Regions from separate parts of the Homo sapiens genome. Here region 2 is linked to region 1. The links are contacts of gene promoters, found by promoter capture Hi-C in human tissues and cell types (Jung and others, 2019). All regions are on one chromosome and are shown on one strand. The core of a region is centred on a gene start or on the middle of the fragment in contact, and the rest is flanking DNA. Distances in the headings are between cores, read along the strand shown.

Region 1 (7,737 bases), core at 1,873-4,372:
AAGAAGTCAATGCCTAGCTTCAAATCTTCAAAGGACAGGTTGACTCTCTTGTTAGGAGCTAACGCAGCTGGTGACTTGGAGTTGAAGCCAGTGTGCATTTGCCAGTCTGAAAATCCCGGAGCCCTTATGAATTATGCTGAATCTACTCTGCCTATGCTCTATAAATGGAACAACAAAGCCTAGATGACAGTATAACTGTTTATACTAGGGTTTACTGAATATCTTTTTTGTTTGTTTGTTTGTTTTTTTGAGGCAGGGTCTCACTCTGCCACCCATGCTGGAATGCGGTGACGTAATTATAGCTTACAGTAACCTCGAACTCTTGGGCTCCAGTGATCCTCCTGCCTCAGTCTCCTGAAGAGCTGGTATTACCAGCATATGCCGCCACAGCTGGCTAAGGTTTACTGCATACCTTAAGCCCACTTTTGAGACCTACTTCTAAGAAAAAAAGATTCCTTTCAAAATATTAATGCTCATTGATAATGCCCCTAGTCACCCACGAGCTCTGATGGAGATGTACAAGGAAATGAATGTTGTTTGGATGTCTGCTAACATAACATCCATTCTGTAGGCCATAGATCAAGGAATGATTTTGACTGTCAAGTCATTTTATTTACAAAATACATTTTGTGAGGTTACAGATGCCATAGATAGTGATTTTATGCTGGATCTGGGCAAAGTAAAATGGAAGCCTTCTGGAAAGAATTAACTCTTCTAGATGTCATTAAGAACATTTATGGCCGGGCACGGTGGCTCACGCCTGTAATCCCAGCACTTTGGGAGGCCAAGGCAGGCGGATCATGAGGTCAGGAGATCAAGACCATCCTGGCTAACATGGTGAAACCCCATCTCTACTAAAAATACAAAAAAATTAGCCGGGCATGGTGGTGGGCGCCTGTAGTCCCAGCTACTCAGGAGGCTGAGGCAGGAGAATGGCGTGAACCCAGGAGGCGGAGCTTGCAGTGAGCCGAGACCACGCCACTGCACTCCAGCCTGGGTGACAGAGTGAGACTCCATCTCCAAAAAAAAAAAAAAGAACATTTATGATTAATGGGAAGAGGTCACCATATCAACATTAACAGGAGTTGGGAAGAAATTAATTCCAACCCTCATGGATGACTTTGAGGGGTTCAAGACTTCACTCGTGGAAGTAACTGCAGATTTGGTGGAAACAGCAAGAGAACTAGAATTGGAAGTGAAGCCTGAATATGTGACTGAACTGCTGCAATCTCATGATCCAACTTGAATAGATGGGGAGTTTCTTCTTACGGATGAGCAAAGAGAGAGTGCTTTCTTGAGATGGAAGCTCCTCTTGGTGAAGATGCTGTGATCATTGCTGAAATAACAACAAAAGATTTAGAATATTCCATAAACTTTGTTGATAAGGCAGTGGCAAGATTTCAGAGAACTAACTTTGAAGGAAGTCCTGCTGTGGATGAAATGGTATCACACAGCATCACATGCTACAGAGAAATCTTTCATGAAAGGAAGTGTCCATCGATGCAGCATTGTTGTTTTATTTTAGGAAATTGCCACAGCCATCCCAACGTTTAGCAACCACCACCCTGATCAATCAGCAGCATGGAGGCAAGACCCTCCACCAGCAAAAAGATTATGATTTGCTGAAGATTCAGATGACCATGTTAAATTAAGTTTAGCATAAAGCTGCCTCCTTATGCATTTTAAGTTCAGACTAACAATTTATTTCTTTCTCTCTCTCCCTTTCTCTCCCTTCCTTTCCTTTCCCTTCCCTTCCCTTCCCCTCCCTTCCCCTCCCTTCCCCTTCCCTTCCCCTTCTCTTCCTTTCTTTCTTTTCTCTCTCTCTTTCTCTCTTTCTCTTTTTTTGAGACGGAGTCTTGCTCTGTTGCCCAGCCTGGAGTGCAGTGGCACGATCTCTACTCACTGCAACCTCTGCCTCCCAGCAGAGAGAATCAAGAGATTCTCCTGCCTCTACCTCCTGAGTAGCTGGGATTATAGGCTCGCGCCACCAAGCCCGGCTAATTTTTTGTATTTTTAGTAGAGACAGGGTTTCATCATGTTGGTCAGGCTGGTCTCGAACTCCTGACCCCAAATGATCTGCCCCCGCCCCCCCACCAAAGTGCTGGGATTATAGATGTGAGCCTTTGCACCTGGCCTAACAGTTTCTCCATACATAGTGAATTGTAGACAACTACAATTGTAAATGTGTAAAGAGACTGTAACCTTGTAACAAGTAGCGAGTCTCAGTCAATCACAGCAGCGGAGTTTTGGCCAATCACAGGTGGCCAACTGTTTAAACAGTGCTCAAAATAGTCAGAGGTTGAGTTGCAACCAATCCAGCTGTTTCCATACTTGACTGCAATTTCTGTAAGTCATTTTCCTTTTTCTGTCCATAAATGTTATTTGAACATATGGCAGCCCGAATCACTCTGAACCTATTTTGGTTCCAGGGATTACTGGATTTTGGACTCATTCTTTGGTCAATTCAACTCTGTAAAGTTTAATTTGTCTAAAGATTTTCTGGGCCGGATACAGTGGCTCACGCCTGTAATCCCAGCACTTTGGGAGGCTGAGGCGGGAGGATCGCTTGAGCCCAGGAGTTCGAGACCAGCCTGGCCAACATAGCGAGATCCCGTCTCTACCCACAAATAATTTAGCCAGGCGTGGTGGCGCGTGCCTGTAGTCTCAGCTACTGGGGTTCTTATTCCTCGTGGCAACACATTTTGGAGAGGGGGAGGTATTCCTGTCTTTGCTGGGTGGGAGAACGGCCAGTGGGCAAGGGAGGACGAAAATGAGAACTGTGACTGCCAGAGGGCACGTCAATTTTAGGAAGAGAACGTAAGAAAGTTGGGTTCTGTGGAGACTTGGCATATCCACGCCACCTGGAAAATCATCACGTGCCCTCCGGGGCAAGACCAAGGCCTCAAGTCACCCCTCGCAGCCCAGTGGACCTCCCGGCCATCCCTTTCACGGCTCCACAGCGACCGCGAGCCGTTGCCCCGGTGAGAACCCCCCGGCACTGTGCGCGCCCCCGCCTGCCGTGCGCGTCCGCTTCCCTGGGATCCGGCGCCGCGCGCGCCCCCGCCGCGTCCCCGCCCCTTCCGGCCCGGGAGATTTGATTCCCTTGGCGGGCGGAAGCGGCCACAACCCGGCGATCGAAAAGATTCTTAGGAACGCCGTACCAGCCGCGTCTCTCAGGACAGCAGGCCCCTGTCCTTCTGTCGGGCGCCGCTCAGCCGTGCCCTCCGCCCCTCAGGTCAGTTCTCCCGCCTGCCCGCCGCAGTCGCAGTTGATGGCTGGGGTCTGGGCTGTGCGGGGCGCAGCGGCCCAAACCCAGTTTGCTCCTGGCTCTCGGGAGACTGGAGGATTTCATCGGAGCCCCGCGCTTTACCAGCCCTGTTCCCTGGATAAGATATTTGACCTTTCCGACCCGCGGTTTTCTTCTCCGTAAGTGGGGATAATGACCGTGTCTACTTAACAGGGTTATTGAAGAGGTGTTCAGGCTAAGCGTTTGCCACCTAGGAGGCTGCGATAGACGTGAATTCCCATTTCCCGTTTCCAGTTTCCGTGACTCTTCCCCGCGAAAAAAGTTGACAGAAGGGTTTCGAGTTTTTTCTGTTTGTACAACTCAGTTTACTGGGGCAGTGCAATAAAAAAGGAGATGTGTTATCACTACCTTTTCAGAGTCCAAATCCATCCTCTCCTATCATCTCCCCAGAGTAGTGGCTTCAGAGGCTCACACTAAAAGGGGAATTTTTTTTCTTTTTCTTCAAGACGGAGTTTCGCTCTTGTTGCCCAGGCTGGAGTGCAATGGCGCGATCTCGGCTCACCGCAACCTCCGCCTCCCAAGTTCAAGCGATTCTTCTGCCTCAGCCTCCCGAGTAGCTGAGCTTACAGACATCCGCCACCACGCCCGGCTCATTTTTTGTATTTTTAGTAGAGACGGGGTTTCACCACGTTGGCCAGGCTGGTCTCCAGCTCGTGTCCTCAGGTGATCCGCCCGCCTTGGCCTCCCAGAGTGCTGGGATTACAGGCGTGAGCCACCACGCCCGGCCTAAAAGGGGAATTTTCACCGAATGCTGTATCAGTAATAGGAGCAGCAGGATTGCTCCCACCAAGAAACCTGGTGTAGGGTTGTGGGAGCTGGAAAGGGTAGACTCAGGGAAGGCTGCCCAAGAGAGGAATCAGGTCCCTAGCACTTAGGACGGGTAATTACCTTTGGTATTTCTCCTTTGTTAGTGGAATGAGGTGAGTATCAGGAGCCTGGATTGTTGTTTAGAGGCCAGTGTTCCTAACTTTGGTTTAAATTTTGGTTTCTGTTTCCCATGGAGTCTGGCTAGAAAATCAGAAAAATCAGAAAAGCCCTTACTGGGCCTTCGTGGGCTTGTTTCTCCCAAGGGTCTGTCCTTTCTGTGTAACTACTGTGGACCAACTAGATGGGCAGATCAATCCCAATGAGTGCCTCATTGTTGGTGCTCCCAGAAGCCTTTGCAAGGGAGCAGGGCAGGATGCTAATTAAATGTGTTACAGGCCACATTATAAACCATTCTGAGCCCGGCGTGGTGGCTCACGCTTGTAATCCCAGCACTTGGGGAGGCCGAGGTGGGCGGATCACTTGAGGCCAGGAGTTCTAGACCAGCCTGGCCAACATGGCGAAACCCCGTCTCTACTAAAAATACAAAAAAAAAAAAAAAAAAAAAAATTAACCGGGCATGGTGGCGCATGCCTGTAATCCCAGCAACTGGGGAGGCTGAGGCACGAGCATCTCTGGAACCCAGGAGGCGGAGGTTGCGGTGAGCCGAGATCTAGCTACTGCACTCCAGCCTAGGTGACAGAACGAGACCCTGTCTCAAGCAAATAAACAGACAAAACCCAAAAAACCATTCTGTATTCTACTTCCTGTTTGAAATTATCCTCAGCATCAGTGTCTTTCCAAGCTCTGTAGATAAGGTAAATGTATTTATGCGGCAAGTAATAGAATAGCCCAAATAATATTGTTAAAAAATGCCCCCAATTTGTTGCTATCCTTTAAAATTTAACCATAAACGTCTTCTCATTATCCCAATTCCTTGCTCTTCTGAGAAGTTAAAGACCCCAATTATAGGCCGGGCGCGGTGGCTCACGCCTGTAATCCCAGCACTTTGGGAGGCCGAGGCAGATGGATTGTGAGGTCAGGAGTTCAAGACCAGCCTGGCCAAGATGGTGAAACCCCATCTTTACTAAAAATACAAAAAATTAGCCGGGCGTGGTGGCGCACACCTGTAATCCCAGCTACTTGGGAGGCTGAGGCAGAATTGCTTGAACTCAGAGGGCGGAGGTTGCAGTGAGCCGAGATTACGCCACTGCACTCCAGCCTGGGCAAGAGAGCAAGACTCCGTCTCAAAAACAAAAACAAAAACAAAACCCAATTATATATACCCCCAATTCTTCTATTTATTTAGTCAAGCCCAGAAGGGCACTCAGGTGTCTGATTGGGGTCTAATTTCCTTCTTCATTATTCACAGTTGAGAGGCTGTCTTCCGCGTTGACTGATAATATACCTCCTTCAGCAGCTACAAAGTTGGGTTACTCTGTTCTCAAGGCTTTTCTGTATTCTATATTAACAAACTCTAGAGGATAAACAGGGCACATGAGAATATTTAGAACCAGCTCCACATTCACAAAGATTTACAAATCAAGTATAATCTGCTATTAGTGTAGGAGTTTGTAATGTAAGCACCAGTTTTCTCACATTGCAGCAACAACGATATTCCCTTGATTCAGTAGCTATAATCTAGGCCCACATTGGTATTACTCATCCAAAGACATGATGTAATTTGAGAGAAGCGGGTAGATAGAGAAAATGGAAGAAAGAAAGAAAAAAAAAAGTGCATGGCTTCAGTCTTACCTTAGTTGTTAAATAAACAACTTGCCCATCTCTGCTAGTTTTCCAGAGGCCATGACTGGGATGTTTATAACTCTTTTGGGAGAAGTCTATTAAGTTAATTATGACACTCTTAAATCCCTAATCTGGGAAGTGAATTCCAGCATCTTACAAATTGCTTTCTCTTTCTGAGTGACAATTTGAAATAGCCCAGTCCTTTGCATGGAATGTAAACATGTGCATTCAGATTTATAGTCCAGTGTTCCTCCATTTCCATTCTCCTGCTCTCTTTTTTCTTCTGTATCAGGATTCCAAAGATTTCTGAGCCTTAGGTTGACCTCTATACTTTTACTGTTTTTATTGCCTTTTGGAATTTCTTAGTCCTATGGTTCCTGTTTGTTTTTAGGATGAGGTTCCAGTTTATCCCCACATTTGCCCCACTGACAAATGCCCTTTAAAATATTTCTGAATTAGTGTTGCTGTTTAAAGTATTTAATCCTGTGCCTTCAGGTGCCCAGTGAGAATAAATTTGTCCTCTGTGATATCTCCTTGCCTTGAGTAACTTTTTCTACTCCAGTGGAAGCAGAATGTTTCATTTTCTATCAACAGTTTTCCCTCAGTACTGGGACCTGACCTTGCTTCTTCTAATGTTTGCCTACTGTGTTCATGCAGATTTCGTTAGGTTAAATGTTCAACCTACTTATTAAGTTGGGTCCAGTGTGATCTCTTCCTAGGAAATGGCTTAATATTGTTTATTTTATCAGAATGTCGTTTTGCATGTTATCTTTTTGTGTGCTATTTCTGCTTTGATGTTGAAGACTGAACCTTGTTTTTTAAAGCTGATTTAATTTTTTTCTTGAGTGTCGATATTTTTCCTTCTAAAGCTTCTGCTCTAGTTTTCTATTCATTGACCAAATTTTTTTTGTTTGTTTTTGAGCTGGAGTCTCACTCCTGTCGTGCAGGCCAGAGTGCAGTGGCGTGATCGCGGGTCACTGCAACCTCCACCTCCTGGGTTCAAGCGATTCTCCTTCCTCAGCCTCCCTAGCAGCTGGGATTACAGGTGTGCATCACCACGCCCGGCTAATTTTTGTATTTTTAGTAGAGACGGGGTTTCTGCATGTTGGTCAGGCTGGTCTCGAACTCCTGACCTCAGGTGATCCACCTGCCTTGGCCTACCAAAGTGCTAGGATTACAGGCGGGAGCCATTGTGCCCAGCCGTTTTTTACTTGCTGATAATAATTTTCTTTTTCTCTCCAAGTAAAATGATTCATGGAATCAGTGTTTCAGGCATAGAAAAATGATATTTTTAAAATGTCCTTTGTGGCTTTTGGGGTTTTGATAAGTTCATTCAGAATTTTTTCCACCTCAATTTTAAGAAGACTACTCATCATTGTATGAAGGGCCTTCTCTTATTAAGCTCTGTCTTCCTTTATAAGCTCACCACACTTCTGAGGTTGAACTCACACTCTAGGTCTTCCAAATTCATGGCCATTATTAAGGCTTAGTAACATGCTAGTCACTCAGTTCTGGATAAGGGCAGGGTGAAGAACAGAGAATTTGAAGGTAGTTTACGTGGCACCTGCCACTCATCAGTTTGAGGCTTAAACAGGCTTGCTTGGCCAGGGCGATGGCTCACGCCTGTAATCCCAGCACTTTGGGAGGCCAAGGAGGGTGGATCACCTGAGGTCAGGAGTCTGAGACCAGCCTGGCCAACATGGCGAAACCCCATCCCTACTAAAAATACAAAAATTAGCCGGGTATGGTGTTGTTGTTCGCCTGTAGTCCCAGCTACTTGGGAGGCTGAGGCAGGAAAATAGCTTGAACCTGGGAGGCGCAGGTTGCAGTGAGCTGAGATCGCACTACTGCACTGCAGCCTGGGCACCAGAGCAAGACTC
Region 2 (7,599 bases), core at 1,994-4,493, 44 kb before region 1:
CTGTTGTATTCAGGGTATGTATTGAAATGTGGTAGGAAAAGAGCCTGTTGGGCCATAGGCATGGATCCAGATCAGTGCTAGCTATATTTGTCTTCAAAACAGAGGTTGTTTTTATCATGTTCTCCACTGGTTTCCTAGCGCTTGGAACAGTGTCTGGCTAAGGGAAAGGAATGAAAGACATTTTACACTATGTTTAATAAATTTGCATGTTCCCCTGTAAGTGATAGGGGATTTGGTTCTTCAGCCATTCCCTTTCTTCTGTGAGTTAGCTCATATCATTTTTTCTTAAGTTAAACATGACCGCTTTCTGTTGCTTGCAACCAAAGAACCCTACCTGATTCAGTTGGCACAGTTCATCCCCTTACAGGAGATACATCCCCTGTTAAGGGAGTATCTCTTTTTTTTTGAGACGGAGTTTCACTCTTGTTGCCCAGGCTGGAGTGCAATGGCATGATCTCGGCTCACTGCAACCTCCGCCTCTTAGGTTCAAGCGATTCTCCTGCCTCAGCCTCCCTAGTAGCTGGGATTACAGGCAACCGCCACCATGCCCAGCTAATTTTTTATATTTTTTTTAGTAGAGACGGGGTTTCACTATGTTGGCCAGGCTGGTCTTGAACTCCTGACCGCAGGTGATCCACCCTCCTTGGCCTCCCAAAGTGCTAGGATTACAGGCGTGAGCCACCGTGCCTGGCCAGGAGTATCTCTTACATGAAGAATATCAAGGACATTCAAAGTGCTTTTAGTAGTGGGCCACAAATTCAGAAATCCCTGGGTGTGCAGCCACTGGCATTTAAACTAATGGCAAGTCAAGAGGGTTAGTATGCGTAGTAGATGGAAGTCAAGTGTATGTATTTAAGTCAAGTGTATGCAACATATGAATGAGCAGAAACATTAAACGTAACCTTTAGGAAAAGACAACAGGCAAGTGCAAACAAAAAGAAAGCGGACTATGCATTATTCATATCACAAAATAAATTCAAGGAAAGCAAAATCTATTTAGATATTTACTAAAAGGAGAGCACTACGTAACAGAGCTTATGGGAACGGGCCAAATCTCCACTTACAAGAAGATTAACAACCTTAAATTTCTTTATTGTAGAACTAAGAATGAAAATACCTGAACTGAGCAGTCAGTTCAAGAAAAATGACAAAAAGAAGAGAGCAGACTGAATGAGAATTTGGCCACAGTCCATTTCATAGGTGTGGGACAGGGAAAGGAAAAAGGGCCTCTCAAATGCACAAATAACATGATCAGAGAGGTGCAAGTACAACCAAGGGAGCTCAGTTTCACAGAACCAAGGGGAACAGAGTTTTTTGGTGTTTTTGTTTCAGACAGTGTCTTGCTATGTTGCCCACACTGGTCTTGAACTCTTGGCCTCAAGCGATCCTCCTACCTCAGCCTCCCAAAGTGATGGTGCTGGGATTACAGGTGTGAGCCACCATGCCAGGCCATGGGAAATGGAGGTTTTTTTGTTTTTGTTTTTGTTTTTTTTGAAACAGAGTTTCACTCTTGTTGTCCAGGCTGGAGTGCAATGGCGCAATCTCAGCTCACCGCAACCTCCGCCTCCCGGGTTCAAGTGATTCTCCTGCCTCAGCCTCCCGAGTAGCTGGGATTACAGGCATGTGCCACCATGCCCAGCTAATTTTGTATTTTTAGCAGAGACAGGGTTTCTCCATGTTGGCCAGGCTGGTCTCGAACTCCCAACCTCAGGTGATCTGCCCGCCTCGGCCTCCCAAAGTGCTGGGATTACAGGCGTGAGCCACCGAGCCCGGCCTGTTTTTGTTTTTGAGACAGGGTCTCACTCGTACCCAGGCTGGAGTGCAGTGGCATGATCTCAGCTCACTGCAACCTCCGGCTCCTGGGCTCAGGGATCCTCCTACCTCAACCCCCCAAGTAGCTGGGACTACAGGTGCAAGCCACCACACCTGGCTAATGTTTGTATTTTTGGTTGAGACAGGGTTTTGTCATGTTGCCCAGGCTGGTCTTGAACTTCTGAGCTCAAGCAATCTACCCACCTCGTCCTCCCAAATTGCTAGGATTATAGGCGTGAGCCACCCATCCAGGCCAGGAAATGGAGTTTTAATGAATAAGTGAGGAGCTGCAGAAGGGAGGGAGTAATCAACAGGGTCAAACAAAAAATGAGATCCGATAAGAAAATGTCTTAAATTTCTACAGAGCTTGGCAATTACCAGTAAGAGATCAGCAGGATTTATTCTGAGCTTTCCATAGAAAGAAAATACTTTGGCAGAATTAAAGGGAAGGACACTAGAATTGTGGTCATTTCTCATGTTTGCCATCCAAAGTCTCCTTAGACCTCTTACGCTACGTGTACTCCAATTTTTCCGGGGAAGAGACATCCTTTTTTTTTTTTTTTTTTTGAGACAGTCTTGCTCTGTCGCCAAGGCTGGAGTGCAGTGGTACAATCTCGGCTTATCACAACATCTGCCTCCCAAGTTCAAGTGATTCTCCTGCCTCAGCCTCTCAGATAGCTGGGACTACAGGCACACACCACCATGCCCAGCTATTTTTGTGTGTGTGTGTGTGTGTATTTTTAATAGAGACAGGGTTTCAACACATTGGCCAGGCTGGTCTCGAACTCCTGAACTCTAGTGATCCGCCTGCCTCCCAAGTACCAGCTGATGCATTTCTATGTCCAGGGTGTGATATGGCAGACTGTGGGTTGAATAACCCCATTCTCATTCCCAACCCTGTTTTCCCTTGCCTGCCTCACTTGTACTCACTTTCCCAACAACCTTATAGCAAGCAGTGGCCAGATGGTATGTATCCCAAAACAGACATGATATCCAGGTAGATATAAATGACTAGAACTGGGCCGGGCACAGTGGCTCACACCTGTAATCCCAGCACTTTGGGAGGCCGAGGCAGGCAGATCTCTTGAGGTCAGGAGTTTCAGATCAGCCTGGCCAACATGGTGAAATCCTGTCTCTACTAAAAATACAAAAATTAGGCCTGGCACAGTGGCTCATGCCTATAATCCCAGCACTTTGGGTGGTTGAGACAGGCGGATCACCTGAGGTCAGGAGTTTGAGACCAGCCTGGCCAACATGGTGAAACCCTGTCTCTACTAAAAATACAAAAATTAGCCGGGCGTGGCAGCATGCGCCTGTAATCCCAGCTACTTGGGAAGCTGAGACAGGAGAATCACTTGAACCTGGGAGGCAGGGGTTGCAGTGAGCCGAGATCGCGCCATTGCAGTCCAGCCTGGGCAACAGAGCAAGACTCCATCTCAAAAAAAAAAATAAAAAAAAAAATAAAATAATACAAAAATCAGACGGATGTGGAAGCAGGCGCCTGTAATCTCAGCTACTTGGGAGGCTGATGCAGAATCGCTTGAACCCAGAAAGTGGAGGTTACAGTGAACCGAGATTATGCCACTGCACTCCAGCCTGGGCGAAAGGAGACTCCATCTAAAAAAAAATACAAAAATTAGCCAAGCTTTGTGGCATGCACCTGTAATCACAGCTACTGGGGAGGCTGAGGCAGGAGAATCACTTGAACCCGGGAGCAGGAGATTGCAGTGAGCCAAGAGGTGCCACTGCACTCCAGCCTGGGTGACAGAGTGAGACTCCATCTCAAAAAAATAATAGAAATAAAAATAAAAGACATGGCCAGATGGGGTGGCTCACGCCTGTAATCCCAGCACTTTGGGAGGCCGAGGTGGGTGGATCATGAGGTCAAGAGATCAAGACCATCCTGGCCAACATGTTGAAACCCCGTCTCTACTAAAAATACAAAAATTAGCTGGGCATGGTGGCGCGCCCCAGTAATCCCAGCTACTTGGGAGGCTGAGGCAGGAGAATCGCCTCTGGGAGGCGGAGGATGCAGTGAGCAGAGATCGTGCCACTGCACTCCAGTCTGGGTGACAGAGCGAGACTCTGTCTCAAAAAACAAACAAGCAAACAAACAAACAAAAGATACATAACTGGAATTGGGACACCCATCTTGTGAGAAACAGTAAAAAATCAAGAGAATCCCAGCTCTACCAACCCCAAGTCCTTGAGCCACTGGGTCGACATGTTACTATATGACTTCAGACTTTTGTGTGTGTGTGTTTTTGACACAGAGTCTCATTTTCTTGCCCAGACTGGGGTGCAGTGGTGCAGTCAATCTCGGCTCACTGCAACCTCTGCCTTCCAGGTTCAAGTGATTCTCCTGCCTCAGCCTCCCAAGTAGCAGGGATTACAGGCGTGCACCACTATGCCTGGCTAATTTTTGTATTTTTAGTAGAGACAGGGTTTTCACCATGTTGGCCAGGCTGGTCTCAAATTCCTGACCTTAAATGATCCACCCGCCTTGGCCTCCCAAAGTGCTGGGAATACAGGTGTGAGCTACAGCGCCTGGCCTGACTTCAGACTTTTTATGATGTGAGAAAAATACACCCCTGATGTCAACTCCTGATGTAAAGTCTGTCCTTGTACTTGAATTAATGTCTGTTACAGAAGACTTGTGACTTATAATGATGCTGATTTTGTCCCTAGGGCCACAGGTGGCTATGTTGACTTAAGCCTTAGCCAATTCACATAGAACATTTCCTTGATGACAGTGAATTGTTCAGGGACAGGCATAAGAGCCAAGTCAGGACAATTGGGGCCAAAGAAACTCACTTTCCAGGATATTTTTATAAACTGTCAGAGAAGCAGACTTTTCTTTTCCTGCAGTAATTGATTAAGAGAAGATATGTGGATTGAGCCGCAGCAGCATCTTGAGGGGGAGAATCTGCCTGAGGCTCGAGCCAGCACAGGAAAAACTGAACCCAGAGATGAAAAAGAGAAAGTGGGTTCTGGTGACATAGCTCTAGACTCAGTCAAGCCTTATTTGGAGTCAGCCCAACCCCTGGAGTTTTCACATACGTGAGCCAATAAATTGCCCCTTTTGAAAGCCATTTAGGTTTGGGTTTTCTCTTACATGAAAGCAAAGAATCTTCAGGAGATTGTATTTTTCCAAAGATGGTTCCATCAGTATATTTATCCCATTCCACATGCTCTTCTTGCAATAACTGGTACTCTTCCCACTATTGGGTGGGGTTTGTTTTCCCACCCCTGGGTGGGGCTTGTGGTTGCCGTAACCAAGGAGTATGGCACCATGATGCTATTGACTTACAAGGTACAGATTGTCTCTTTCTCTCTCTCTCAGTGCTTACCTTTGTAACCTGGCCTCTATATTTTAAGGAAACCTAAGCCACTTGGAGAGGTCACATGTAGGTGTTCTAGCCAACAATCTTAGGTCTCAGGACAGCCAGAATCTATCACCAGATGTGAGTGAATGAGCCTTCAGGTGATTCTAGCCCCCAGCATTCAAATATTCCAAATGAGACCCTGGCCATCCTGGAGCAGAGACATGCCATTCTGGCTGTGTTCAATCCAACCTCCGCCTCCTGGGTTCAAGCAATTCTCCTGCCTCAGCCTCCTGAGTAGCTGGGATTACAGGTATGTGCCACCATGCCTAGCTAAATTTTTTGTATTTTTAGTAGAGATGGGGTCTCGCTATGTTAGCCAGGCTGGTCTGAGAGCACGTGCCCAGATTATCATTGTTTTAATGCAACTAAATTTTGGGGTAGTTTATTATGTAGCAATAGATATACTAACACGGAGTCCTAATTGATAGAATTGGTATTCTGCGTGAGAGTGGTTTAAGAAGAATAGTAGAGGCTGGGCATCACAACTCATGCCTGTAATCCCAGCACTGTGGGAGGCTGAGGCAGGCGGATCACCTGAGGTCAGGACTTCGAGACCAGCCCGGCCAATGTGGTGAAACCCATCTCTACTAAAAATACAAAAAATTAGCCTGGTGTGGTGGCATGCACCTGTAATCCCAGCCACTCGGGAGGCTGAGGCAGCAGAATGGCTTCAACCCGGGAGGCGGACACTGCAGTGAGTGAAGATCATGCCACTGCACTCTCTAGCCTGGGTGACAGAGCGAGATGCCATCTAAAAAATAAAAAAAAGAAAAAAAAAAGAAGACGAAGACAAAGAAGAAGAATAGTGGAATGGGAAATAAGATTGCAGCGTATAAGAAGCGAGCAGGAGGTGAGAAAAATGGAATTAGAAAGGTAGATACTCTGGACTCTGAACAAGTTCCATGAAGGCCTCTCCCTGGTCTTAGAAAAGGATACAATAAGTCTTAAACCAAAGCTGACAGTCACTATTCAGGCTTCTGGGGATCATCAGAGGACTAAAGGTTATGAGTTTGATATAATTCTGGAGGAGGGTCTTTACTAACTGGCTTTGTGAATTTCTCAGAATTCCAAAAGGCATTAAGAAGGAATCAAAGGTGAATCAATAAAACCCTCAGGAAAGCATTTATTTCAGAAGCATTCTCTGCTCAAAAACTCCAGCAGACTTCATTGCCTCTGATACAGATAAAGCCCTTCAGCCTGGCATTCGAGGGTCTCCTTGCCACATCTGTTTCCCAATGCTCCCCTTTACATCCCCCAGGGTCCAGCAAAACTGTGATGCTTGCTGACTGCACTACGTGATATTCTCCCAACTCTCCTTCCCTGTGCCACCTCTAGGTGTTTGCCCTCGTGGGGAAGAAACTCTGGAGCACCAGCTGTGGTCAGAGTGCTCCTCAGTGCCTGTGCCCATTCTCATCTCAGCCAAAGTACAGAGACCTTCTGTAGTGAAGGATCAATGATGATCAATGATGAGTTGTAGGGCCCACAGCCTTTTTCTTTTATGATTTTTAAATTCAAGTTTTTTTTTTTTCTTTTTGAGACAGAGTCTCACTCTGTTACCTAGGCTGGAGTGCAATGGCGGAATCTTGGCTCACTGCAATCTCCACTTCCCGGGTTCAAGCGATTCTCCTGCCTCAGCCTCCTGAGTAGCTGGGACTACAGGCTTGTGCCCCCATGCTCGGCTAATTTTTGTATTTTTAGTAGAGATGGGTTTTTACCATGTTGGCCAGGCTGGTCTTGAACTTCTGACCTCAAGTGATCTGCTCACCTCAGCCTCTCAAAGTACTGGGATTACAGATGTGAGCTGCTGTGCCCAGACAGTAAATTGAAGTATAATTTATATACAGTAAAATGCATAGATCTCAAGTATACTGTCCTGTGAGTTTTAACAGTTGTATTCACTTGGGATGATATGGTTTGGCTGTGTGCCCACCCAAATCTCATCTTGAATTCCCACAGGTTGTGGGAGAGACCTAGTGGGAGGTAATTGTATCATGGGAACAAGTCTTTTTTTTTTTTTTCCCAAGACGGAGTCTTGCTCTGTCTCCCAGGCTGGAGTGCAGTGGTGCGATCTCGGCTCGCTGCAACCTCTGCCTCCCAGGTTCAAGGCATCCTCCTGCCTCAGCCTCCAAAGTAGCTGGGACTACAGGCGCATGCCACCATGCCCAGCTAATTTTTGTATTTTTAATAGAGATGGAGTTTCACCATGTTGGCCAGGATGGTCTCGATCTCTTGACCTCGTGATCTGCCTACCTCGGCCTCCCAAAGTGCTGGGATTACAGGCATGAGCCACCGCACCTGGCCCCTGGGGGGGCAAGTCTTTCCTGAGCTGTTCTTGTGATACTGAATAAGTCTCACAAGATCTGACGGTTTTTTTTTTTTTTAGATGGAGTCTTGTTCTGTC

The links. The method cuts DNA at HindIII sites, captures the fragments that hold promoters and counts their contacts. A contact is called where the count stands out against the background at its distance.
Region 2: a fragment that was not itself captured here is called in contact with the fragment with the promoter of MELK in region 1 in 1 of the 25 tissues and cell types used here (stomach).

Annotation. Positions count from the first base shown.
Region 1 is chr9:36,569,773-36,577,509 of GRCh38, forward strand. MELK (maternal embryonic leucine zipper kinase) reads left to right here and starts at 3,123. Exons shown (of 18, transcript NM_014791.4): 1 at 3,123-3,235. RefSeq lists an enhancer at 1,842-2,341 and a silencer at 2,925-3,204. The HindIII fragment of the contact is 26,418 bases long and covers 1-7,737 here.
Region 2 is chr9:36,525,991-36,533,589 of GRCh38, forward strand. No RefSeq gene overlaps it. Among named protein-coding and RNA genes, the nearest start is that of MELK, 43 kb to the right of the region's middle. The HindIII fragment of the contact is 9,163 bases long and covers 1-7,599 here.